2 separate regions of the Homo sapiens genome follow, and region 2 is linked to region 1. Evidence: promoter capture Hi-C in 16 types of primary human blood cells and fetal thymus (Javierre and others, 2016). All regions are on one chromosome and are shown on one strand. The core of a region is centred on a gene start or on the middle of the fragment in contact, and the rest is flanking DNA. Distances in the headings are between cores, read along the strand shown.

Region 1 (5,580 bases), core at 2,976-5,475:
ACTTCACTTTCAAAGAGAACCCCAATCATGAATCATTATAATTCTCCCAGGTCAATGAAGGTTGCAGAAAAATCCTACCCTTAGAACTGGTCAAAAGGAGTCCCTATCCTGGTCTAGTGCTTTAAAGGGCAAAATCTAGTTCTTTCCAGCTATGCCCTGCCCTAAAGGAATCTTTGGGGCCAAGAAGACGTGTTCATTCAGAACTTGTGCCTTCACTTTTAGACAATAATTTGAGTACCTGGTCCCTAAAATTCTTTGCTCACACAGCCCCAAGAAGTCTAACAGTGACTTTTCCCGAGGTCCTTCCTACTGAGGGCAAACAGTGCTTTCAGTATCTATAACCCTAGGCCAAAAATGTAGCCAAAAGGCCCCAAGGTCCAAGAGGTGACAAAGGAGTGGGAGAGCAGTAAGTTTGCCAAATAAAATACAAGACAACTTGTTAAATTTGAGTTTCAGATAAACAACAAATAATGTCTTAGTATCAGTTCCAAGTATTTCATCAGACAAATTTATACTAAGAATGTATTCATTGTTTATTTAAAATTCAAATTTAACTGTACATCCCTTTTTTAAAAAAAACAAATATGGTAACCCTAGTTGGGGGCCAGAGTTGGGTGTCCATATGCTGGGCATCTATGTGCATAAGCACATGGCCCATTATGATATCGTTATTGATACCATTAGTATCAAATTGTGTATGAAAAGGTGACACTAGCAAGGCAGGATATATGAGCCAATCAATTCTCTTTCATTAACCCACATTCTGACACAATAGAAATTCTAAATTCAACCTGGCTTCCCTGGTATTTTCAAAATAGGAAGAACATATTTAACTTTTACACTTTGTTGGCTATATTTATAATGTTTAAATATTTAGACATTTTTAATTTATGTGGTTCATTTTCAATCTTGTCCCAGCTATAACGTCAAGAGGTGGTACTGTTGCAGAAAAGCACTCTAAGCGTCAATATTATTGTTAATCACATTTAAAGAATGATGAAAGTAAGACTTAGAAAGGTCATTCAGCTAGAGGAGTCCATTTTCAATGTCAGATCTCTCTAAATAGAAATCAAATTGTCTTCATCACCAAAAATAATTTACTACTTACAAGTAAATATATATTTTTTTCTTTTCTTTTTCTTTCAATCATGGCTCACTGCAGCCTTGATGCCCCCAACCCGCCTCCCCCCACCCCCACCACCAGGCCAACATGGCAAAACCCCATCTCTACAAAAAATGCAAAAATTAGTCAGGCATGGAGACAAGTACCTGTAGTTCCAGCTACTTGGGAGGCTGAGATGGGAGGATCGCTTGAGCCTGGGAAGTCAAGGCTACAGTGAGCCACAATTGAACCACTGAACTCCAGCCTGGGTGACAGAGTGAGACCCTGTCTCAAAAAAAAAAAAAAGAGAGATGAAGTCTCCCTTTGTTGCCCAGGCTGGTCTTGAACTCTTGGCCACAAGTGATCCTCCCACCTCAGTCTCCCAAAGTGCTAGAATTACAGGCATGAGCCGCTGTGCCTGGCCATAAGTAAATATATTCTTTGATCACATAATTTAATATGCATGCATAAAACTAATGCATTTCATGGGATATTAAAGATAGGTATAAAGGAAGTCCTAATTGTTCAGGCTTTGATCTTGAGTTTTATTGGCCCAGACACCTGATTTTATAAATGTGCCCACATTTGATAAAACTGTGGGTATGTGTTGTAAATATACAATTCACAACACTGACTTATAAAACAAACTGGCAATTTAAGTTTACAATGGCTAATATATCTGGCAGAATGATCATTTGTAGCAATTCCTCTTTATGGGAAATGCCAACCAGAAGCTCAAATTATAACTCAGAAAATTGCTTGTCTAATGTTGGAACAAAGGGAGTATATCTTAGTTTTTTGTTTTTTTGAGACAGGGTCTTGCTCTGTCACCCAGGCCAGAGTGCAGTGGTGCAAACATGGCTCACTGCAGCCTCGACCTCCCAGGCTCAAGTGATCCTCCTGCCTCAGCCCCCAAAGTAGCTGGGACTACAGACGTGTGCCATCATGCCTGGATAACTTTGTATTTTTTTTAGAGATGGGGTCTCACTATGTTGCCCCAGCTCTGCCTTGGCCTCCCAAAGTGCTGGGATAACAGACGTGAGCCACTGCTCCTAGCCCAGGAGTATATATTCTTTGTTTTTTTGAGATGGAGTTGCCCAGGCTGGAGTGCAATGGCGTGATCTCGGCTCACTGCAAGCTCCGCCTCCCTGGTTCATGCCATTCTCCTGCCTCAGCCTCCCGAGTAGGTAGGACTACAGGCGCCCGCCACCACGCCCGGCTAATTTTTTGTATTTTTAGTTGAGACGGGGTTTCACCGTGTTGGCCAGGATGGTCTCGATCTCCTGACCTCATGATCCGCCCGCCTCCACCTCCCAAAGTGCTGGGATTACAGGCGTGAGCCACTGCGCCCGGCCAGGAGTATATATTCTTAAGCTAACATTTCCATCAAGATAGGTGAATTATATGCAAAAGAAAGGAAATCAGTGTATCGAAATGATATCTGCATTCTCATGTTTGTTGCAGCACTATTCACAACAGCCAAGATTTGGAAGCAACTTAAGTGTCCATTAACAGGTGAATGAATAAGAAAAATGTGGTGCATATACACAGTGGAGTATTATTTCGCCATTAAAAAAAATGAGATCCTGTCATTTGCAACATGGATGGAACTGGAGGTCATTATATTAAAGGAAATAAGGCAGGCACAGAAAAAAAACTTGGTATGTTCTCATTTATTATATTTGTGGGAGCTAAAAAATTAAAACAATTGAACGTATGAGAAACGGTAGAACGATGGCTACCAGAGGCTGGGAAGGGTAGTGTGGGGCGGGGGAGGACCCCGGTGGTCGGTGAGCATGGTTAATGGGTACGAAAATACAGTTTGAATGAATAAGATCTAGTATTTGATAGCACAATAGCATGACTACAGTCAACAACAATTTATTGTACTTTTTTTTTTGAGACAAGAGTCTTGCTTTGTTGCCCAGGGTGGAGTGCAGTGGAGTGATCTCGGCTAACTGCAACCTCCGCATCCCAGGTTCAAGCTATTCTCCTGCCTCAGCCTCCCGATTAGCTGAGATTACAGGCGCCCGCCACTACGCCCGGCTAATTTTTTGTATATTTAGCAGAGACGGAGTTTCACCATGTTGGCTAGGCTGGTCTCAAACTCCTGACCTTGTGATTCACCTGCCTCAGCCCCCCAAAGTGCTGGGATTACAGGCGTGAGCCACCACTCCCAGCTTATTGTACATTTTTAAATGACTAAAATAACTGGATTGTTTGAAACACAAAGGATAAATGCTTGTTATGGATACCCCACTTACCCTGATATGATTATTACACATTGCATGCCTGTATCAAAATATCTCATGTACCCTATAAATATGTACACCTACTATGTACCCGCAAACATTAAAAATTAAAATATTTTTAAAAAATTAATTAATTAATCAAATTCCATTCTAAGAACAATCAAGCCGAAAGTGAGGAATTACTTTAAATGCTTTGAAGCTCAGCATCCCGGGGTTCTTATCCGTCACTAATTACCTATACATTTGCAGGTCTCAGTTTCTTTGCTTTGTAAACATAGGCTTCTTGTAAGGATTGGGATTATACACTGAAAAAGCTTAGCACAGTATTATTACTATTATGCTATCTACATTATATTATAGGTGAAACACTACAGATTATAATACATACAATATATACTAATTGTATTATATATTGTTATTTTTTGTCATTATGCTATTTACTATTGTTCTATTTAATAACTCTCTAGATAATTTAACAGGACAAAGGTACAGAACAATCTGGCCCTTACAAGCCGGCGGAGACGGGTACGAATTACCATGACAACAGCGCGCGCCTCGACATTGTCGGCTCGCGCGTTGTTTGGGAAGAAAAAGCCTAGGCTGCGTGTTGCGTCATCATTACGCGCTCTTAAGGTTTCTCCGTGGTGTTTTGGAAGGTCCCGGCACGGCTACCGTCGCCCCACGCTAGGAAATTTTTTTTTTATTTTCAACCTTTGTTACATAGCACTGAGGCTACAAGATCGTAAGTACTGAGGGAAGAAAGAACAAGCGAGCGATTGAACGTTAAAAAGATGCCTTAGCATGCACTCCACCTCTGAACCTTCCTGTGTGTTCTTAATCCTATCAGCTTCCTCTCAGCTGGGATCGCGCCGCGTCAACTTCCGGGCGGATGCCCGCCAGCACGGCCTCCGCCGCTCCCCTTCTTTGGCCCCTTTGTGTCCCCGCAGTGTCGAGGCGCGGGCCCTGGCAGGTCCTTTCTCGAGGCAGGGGGCACGGTAGCACAGGGAGCTTCTCTTTGTGGGCGGGCGCGAGGCCCGCTAGGGGGTTATACTGGGGAACGTGCCTGCGCGTGCTTGGGTAAGAGGAGGTTGCATGAGGGTCAGCTCGTGGTTTCAGTAAGGAGGGGCGGGCGGGGGAGGCGGACGAAGGGGAGTGAAAAGCAATGGAAAATTTTAAAAGATACCCCCGTCCACCTTCTAATTGTTGCGGCCTAACAATGAAGCGCAGCCATAACAGTCCTGAGCCACTGGCATGTTTGCGGGCCCTTTATTGCCTTGGGAATAAACTGCTGTGGCATTGTATCGTATATTGTTTTCATGGCCTTTTTTCCTCTCTTTATTTTTCCCCTGCAGATAGTTCATTTAAAGCCCCCATCCCTGCAAGGTGGTGCTTTCTACCAATATGAATCTTTTCAACCTGGACCGTTTTCGCTTTGAGAAAAGGAATAAGATTGAGGAAGCGCCCGAAGCAACCCCTCAACCTTCCCAGCCTGGCCCTTCTTCACCAATTTCTCTTAGTGCTGAAGAGGAGAATGCTGAAGGGGAAGTTAGCAGGGCAAACACTCCTGATTCAGATATAACTGAAAAAACAGGTGAGTTACAATGTTAAAATTGATGTAACATCAAGGACAGTTTTTAAAAGATGAAAGGCAGAAGGGATTCTCATTTTTATTCTTGATGTCATATATATTGATGCATTGTCCTGCGGTGTGCCCTTTTAAATACAGCTTTGGGACTGCCATAAGCACCATGTACCCTCAACTGAGCATCCATCCATTGTCGCCTCACTTTTATATGAGTTCTTCGAATATGGCCCCATGGTGGAAGTTGAAATTAGAATTTAGGGCATCCATAGGTCAGAACGGTTGCTATTGGAAGAGCGATGTCAGTGATTCAGTCCTATGATAAACTTTGAGGCTATTTGGGCAGACATTTTCATTCATTCCAGTATTCCCTCAAAATATTGATCATCTACTGTGAGCTAGACATTGAGCAAGGTGCCTAAAGACAACCTCTGTACACAAGGGAAGATCAGATCACATCAAGTTCTTGCATCCACCTGACTTCCTGGATGTCCTCAGAATGCAAATGAGTAATTGGTATTCTTCATGGTGAATGAACATTTTTAACCTCATCAGCAGATTGTCAGAGACAAAAGTATTTGAGGATAAGCCAAAAATTAAGATTTCCACTCGAATCTATGTTCATTGAACAGTTAACTATTAGA
Region 2 (5,158 bases), core at 1,788-4,287, about 34 Mb after region 1:
TAAAAATTAAAAGCAAAACTGAACTTGTATCTGTTTTATAGCCAGAAATTTGGCTTTAAGATTTTTTGAAAAGTACTACTTATTACATTTTCTATTAATATGCAATATCAACATATTCTAAGCCCATAAAATGATCTGGCTTTCTTTAAGGTTCCTTTCAATAATAAAATATTCAAATATCTGTTATGTTGTTGATCAACTGTAGAATACTAACTGTATATCACTCTTAGGCTGTTCAACAGAACCTAGGAACTGGCAGAAACTAATCTAAAACTGACTTCTCCATTGTAATCTCAAGAGCCTCCCTCAGTGCACATACCATAAAAAAGCAATCTACCACCTATGACTCTTAATTTTTAATTTTTTTTTATACCGAGTCTCTCTCTGTCGCCCAGGCTGGAGTGCAATGGCGCAATCTCGGCTCACTGCAACCCCCACCTCCCGGGTTCCAGCAACTCTCCCTGCCTCCGCCTCCCGAGTAGCTGGGATTACAGGCACCCGCCACCACGTCTAGCTGATTTTCTTGTATTTTTAGTAGAGACGAGGTTTTGTTATATTGGCCAGGCTGGTTTCGAACTCCTGACCTCTGGTGATCCACCCGCCTCGGCCTCCCAAAGCACTGGGATTACAGGCATGAACCACCACGCCTGGCTTTAATTTTTAATTTCTATCACAGAACAAACGTTTGCCACTGGAGGCTGCCAAACTGTTTCTATGACTGTCTCTCTTAGCTATTTTCAGATACTGCCAAGGCATAATGTGTGAGGACTAATACGATTCTTTGTACTAATACTTTGTTTTCTTCAGTGGCAGTTCAGACAGGGTACAAAAGCTGATCTTTTAGCTGGGTAAGGTCTATATTAAAAATTTAAACCTGTACAGGATTTCTAATCACTTAACACATTTTAATACCAATGGGGGAAAAGCTTGAACTAGGTATAAAATGCTGTCTAAATCCTTGATTTAAAAAAAATTTACTTCGCTTGGCCTGTTTAAATACTGTACTTTGGCCCTGTTCTCTTGTCCCACGTGTGCTTAAGTAAACAAAAATGTATTAACCATTTCAGTTGATATAAGTAGGCAGACACCTTGTGTTCACATTTATGTAACCAGAAGCAAAAACTCTGTAAGCTATGTATTTACTTGGTTGGATTAAATGTGTATATATACACAGAAGTACAAACAACTAAGAAATAAATTACATAATTCAACACCAAAAATCTCCTATTTCTTATCCCTATTCCAATGAACAAACTACAAACCAAAGCACTTCTAAAATATCTTCCAGCTATCAAGCACTGAAATCAGAAGTATATATTTTTAAGTGTCAATAAATCTTATACACCTACAGATTAAATTAAGGAGAAAACCAGCTTACTTCCAGACTGCCAACCCTATGACTTTAAGGCTTGGAGGTACTCTCTCCAATAACAGGTCACTTTAGGTCTCTAATTTAATTATTTATTCTTATTGTAGTCACCACTTTTTTTTAAAGCTTAGTATTAATCAGTGCACAACCAGGATGCACAATGTTGCTCAACTGTATGATATACCAACAGGTTCCATGAGTCTGGGGTTTATTAACATAATCCAAAATGTATGCTACAACCACACTGTAAAAAAAGGGCGTCTAAATCAACTACCCTACACAAAGTTCCCTGAAAACAAAGTTCTCTCAAAACAAAGTTCTAAAAATCTTTAACTTGCATAACTGGCACATGGGGGTATAAATCTACAACTCTTCTAAGTTTTTTCTCCTTAGTTCTGCTAAGTGAAAACACAAGTCATTATCAACGTGTACTTGAAAAGAGAAAAAAAAAGAAAAAAGAAACCAGAGACACGCCTGCTGGGTATAGGAGCTCCACCCCCAAAACTCAAGGTGAATATCCTTACCAGTCTTTAATAAGCTCTGCATTCTGGTCTGTTCTCATCCCACATACCTTGTTAATCATGGAAAGCAACTCCGAACTAAAACTGGTTTAAAGAGAGTCCGAGGTGTTGCTTATACGTCTGGACTTCAGAGACTGGAGGGTTGGGACTTTACATGCCCCTAAACGTGGCCTTACGGAGTAATACAGCGAGGGAAAAAAGGAGATCAGTGGCAAAAAAAAAAAAAAAGGGGGCAAGGAAAAGAAAACGGTGAATTACAGAGCCCAAAACTTTAGTTTAGGTCCCAACTTCAGAAATCTCCCTTCCCTGGTGCCCCATCCATCCCAGGAATCAGGAGACTCAAAAAAGGTTAAGGGCCAGCGTTGACCTGTGACAACTAAAACGATTTTGAAAAATCCAGCCAAAGAAACAAAAAAAAAAGGCTGCGAGGAGAAATGGGATGGAAGAAAGATGAATGCTGAGAGCTGGTCTCTGGGGCGCCACCGGGGACCCTGGTTTCGGGGGAAGAACTGGAGGTGCCCGTAGCTGCGGGGGGACGGTGTGTGTGTAGGGGCGGGATGGGCCGTCCCAGGTGCGGCGGCCGAGGCGCGGGGGTCCCGGAGACGAGAAGGCTGGGCAAACTAACCCGGTGCCCAGAGGCCTCCCTGTCCGAAGGGGGTTGTGCTTCAGCTGCAGGGGGTCCTTCCCCTCCCCTTCCAACTCCTCACCCGGGCCGTAGAACTTGCTGCCTTTGGTCACGTCGAAGACTTTCCCATTGACCGCGAGCAGGATGCGCGGGTTGCGGGAGCCGTCGTACTGGCGCAGCTGCTCCAAGCTGAAGTCCCGCTTCTTCATGCGAGGCAGAGAGGTGGCGGGGCTCTCCTCGCCCGCCCCGGCCCCGGCCCCCAGACCCCGCCGCCCCCAGCGCACCCACAGCCGGTAGGCCCCCAGCAGCACCAGAGCCACCAGCGCCACGTTCAGCAGCATTTCCCCGCCCCCCGTCAGAAGCGCCAACGCCGCCGCCGCCCAGCCTCCCCCTTCCGCTGCCGCTCCCGCGTCGCCTGGACTCTCGCTGCCGCCGTCGTTGCTGCTCTCGCTGCCACTCCCCAGGGTGCCTAGCTTCACGTCCCCATCACCAGCCGCCATCACTGCCCGCCAGCGCCTTCCTCCTCCTCCCCGCCCCCTGCCCTCCCCAACCCCACGGCCGGCCCCGCCCATCTGGGGGCCTCTCAGCCAATAACGTGAGAAGAGGGGGCGGGGTCAGGCCGGCTCCTGATTGGGTGTTGACGGGGTAACGTTGTCTCGGATCTCCCGCCCCCTCCCTTCTTTCGCTGGCCGCGCACGCGTGCAACGCCCCGCCCACCTCGCCCCACACTTCCCTGCTCTCACTCCAAGCCTCCGCTAGGTTAAGTAGACGAGCCGGGCGGGTCTGAAGAAAAGATGCTACGACGGCCGCGCGGACGCTCATGGGCGGGGCGAGACCACAGCGCGTGCGCGGGCTCCTGAGCGCCACGCGCTCGCCTTTCGTTCGTAACCCCTGCGGGAGGCACGCCCCGCCCAGTCTCCAGGCTCTGCGCGTGCGCCCTGGAATCGCTTCCCTTCCTAGGCCTGCGTTCGCGTCCGCAAACTCCCGCCTCCTTGCGCTCCCCCCGCCCGGGAGCTTCACGTGCGCCTTGGCGGCCGCGGGGGCAGGTCCGGGCTGGACGCCTGGCGGAGGACGCGGGCAGGTGGCTTGTGGGAGGCTGGGGCATAGTTGAGCTGCAAGGCGCAAACCGATGAGGGGCGTCTGCTTTTCACCAGGGCGCCGTCGCTTTTGTCGGGAAACCGGCAGCGTAGGCGCGCAGACCGGGAAGCGGCAAGAAGATTTGGCCACGAGCTGGGGTCTTCCTGGAACGGAGAGAAAGCACGGAACCCGCACCGGGCTTCTCTGGCATCGGCAGTCTACGTGCTCCTCGCGCTGGCACCGAGCAGCCACTCCCCGCTGGGTTTGGCAAAGGCTGCTCTTGTAGAATTTTAAAGGATTTAGAGTCTCATTATTCCTTGAATCATAACTTCTGCGGCCGTAGGGAAGTGGACAGGTTGAGGTGGTCTTTCTATTCGTCATTCACTCTTATTTGCAGGTTCTGTTTCATGTACTTGGACGTCTTTTAGCCTCTCACACCTTGAAATTCTAGTGTGAAAAAGTGACCTCTGAAGTCTCACGCACTCAACTCGTTTGACGAACTCGTTTGACGTGTTCTCTCTTGCCCTTTGTTGTCTGTTGTCTTGAGTCTCATAGAATAGGTTTGAACCTTTCACTGTCGGTTTTGTAGGAGTCACTGAGGATATTGACGAGGCAAGTGACAGGGTCGACACTCTTGTAGAGAGGCTGTATAGCAACCAGGTGTCTGAAGGATTAGAGGCTGGGGAAAGAGTGGGAAAGCAGTTAGTAGGCTAGGGTATTTGTGCGTGAGGTGAGGAGACTCAGAGCTAGGGGAGACATTAGAGCAGGGGTTGGCAAACATTTTTTGTAAAGGGCCCGATCATATTTTAAGTCTCTGCCTTAACTACTCAGCTCTACCTTGTAACGAGAAAGCAGCCATAGACAATACTTGAATGAGTGTAGCTGTCTTCAGTAAAACTATGGACATTGAATTTTTAATATAATTTCAGGTATGAAATATTCTTTTGATTTTTAAGAAAATCATTGAAATATGTAAATTTTTTTTTTTTTAGTTCTGGAGAGGTGCAAAAACAACTTATAAGCCATATTGCTGAGCCCTGCATTAGAGGTACCTGAGGGAGAGCGACACAATTGGTAGTAAATGACCATATACTCTATCCTTCAATATGGAACACTTTTGGAAGTAAAGTAGGGCATTAATAATTATAGCCAGAGACCAGGAGTTATATCAGTTTTATCCCAGGCAAACCTAAAGGAATAGTCACCTTAAGGTTAAGGGTTAGGAGAAGTCAAAATTGCTTTAGGACTTGGTAACAGAAAATGGGAGGTGCCAGTGATGGAAATAGGAAGATAAAGAAGAAACTGGTTTTGAGGAGAAGATAGCTGTAGCAGTCCCAAGAGCTGTATACAGTTGAGACAACATTGATAGGAAGGAAGAAAGCACCCCAGAAGCAGGCCACTCCTTATATCTTATTGACCAGAACTGGGCTATTAGCTGTCCCTAAAGCAGTAACAGACAAGGAGCATGGGACATCCATGATTGCCTAGTGTTTATCTGGCTTTTTTAATTCTTATTCAGGACTGTGTTGAGCATTGCTGGACATTTACCATCTCTGGTTCCTTCCA

What was found. The method cuts DNA at HindIII sites, captures the fragments that hold promoters and counts their contacts. A CHiCAGO score of 5 or more calls a contact.
Region 2: a contact is called between the fragment with the promoter of PGRMC2 here and the fragment with the promoter of SMARCAD1 in region 1, in 4 of 17 cell types (total CD4 T cells, activated CD4 T cells, naive CD8 T cells and 1 more). The highest score is 9.2, in total CD4 T cells.

What each region holds. Positions count from the first base shown.
Region 1 is chr4:94,203,640-94,209,219 of GRCh38, forward strand. SMARCAD1 (SNF2 related chromatin remodeling ATPase with DExD box 1) reads left to right here and starts at 4,226. Exons shown (of 24, transcript NM_020159.5): 1 at 4,226-4,431; 2 at 4,707-4,945. The coding sequence starts at 4,756. SMARCAD1-DT (SMARCAD1 divergent transcript) reads right to left here and starts at 3,917. Exons shown (of 9, transcript NR_125922.1): 1 at 3,891-3,917. RefSeq lists enhancers at 3,845-4,204, 4,303-4,806. The HindIII fragment of the contact is 2,630 bases long and covers 3,667-5,580 here.
Region 2 is chr4:128,284,776-128,289,933 of GRCh38, forward strand. PGRMC2 (progesterone receptor membrane component 2) reads right to left here and starts at 3,038. Exons shown (of 3, transcript NM_006320.6): 1 at 2,598-3,038. The coding sequence starts at 3,015. RefSeq lists silencers at 2,678-2,737, 2,918-2,967, 2,978-3,157, 3,478-3,667, 4,039-4,333. The HindIII fragment of the contact is 4,970 bases long and covers 1,494-5,158 here.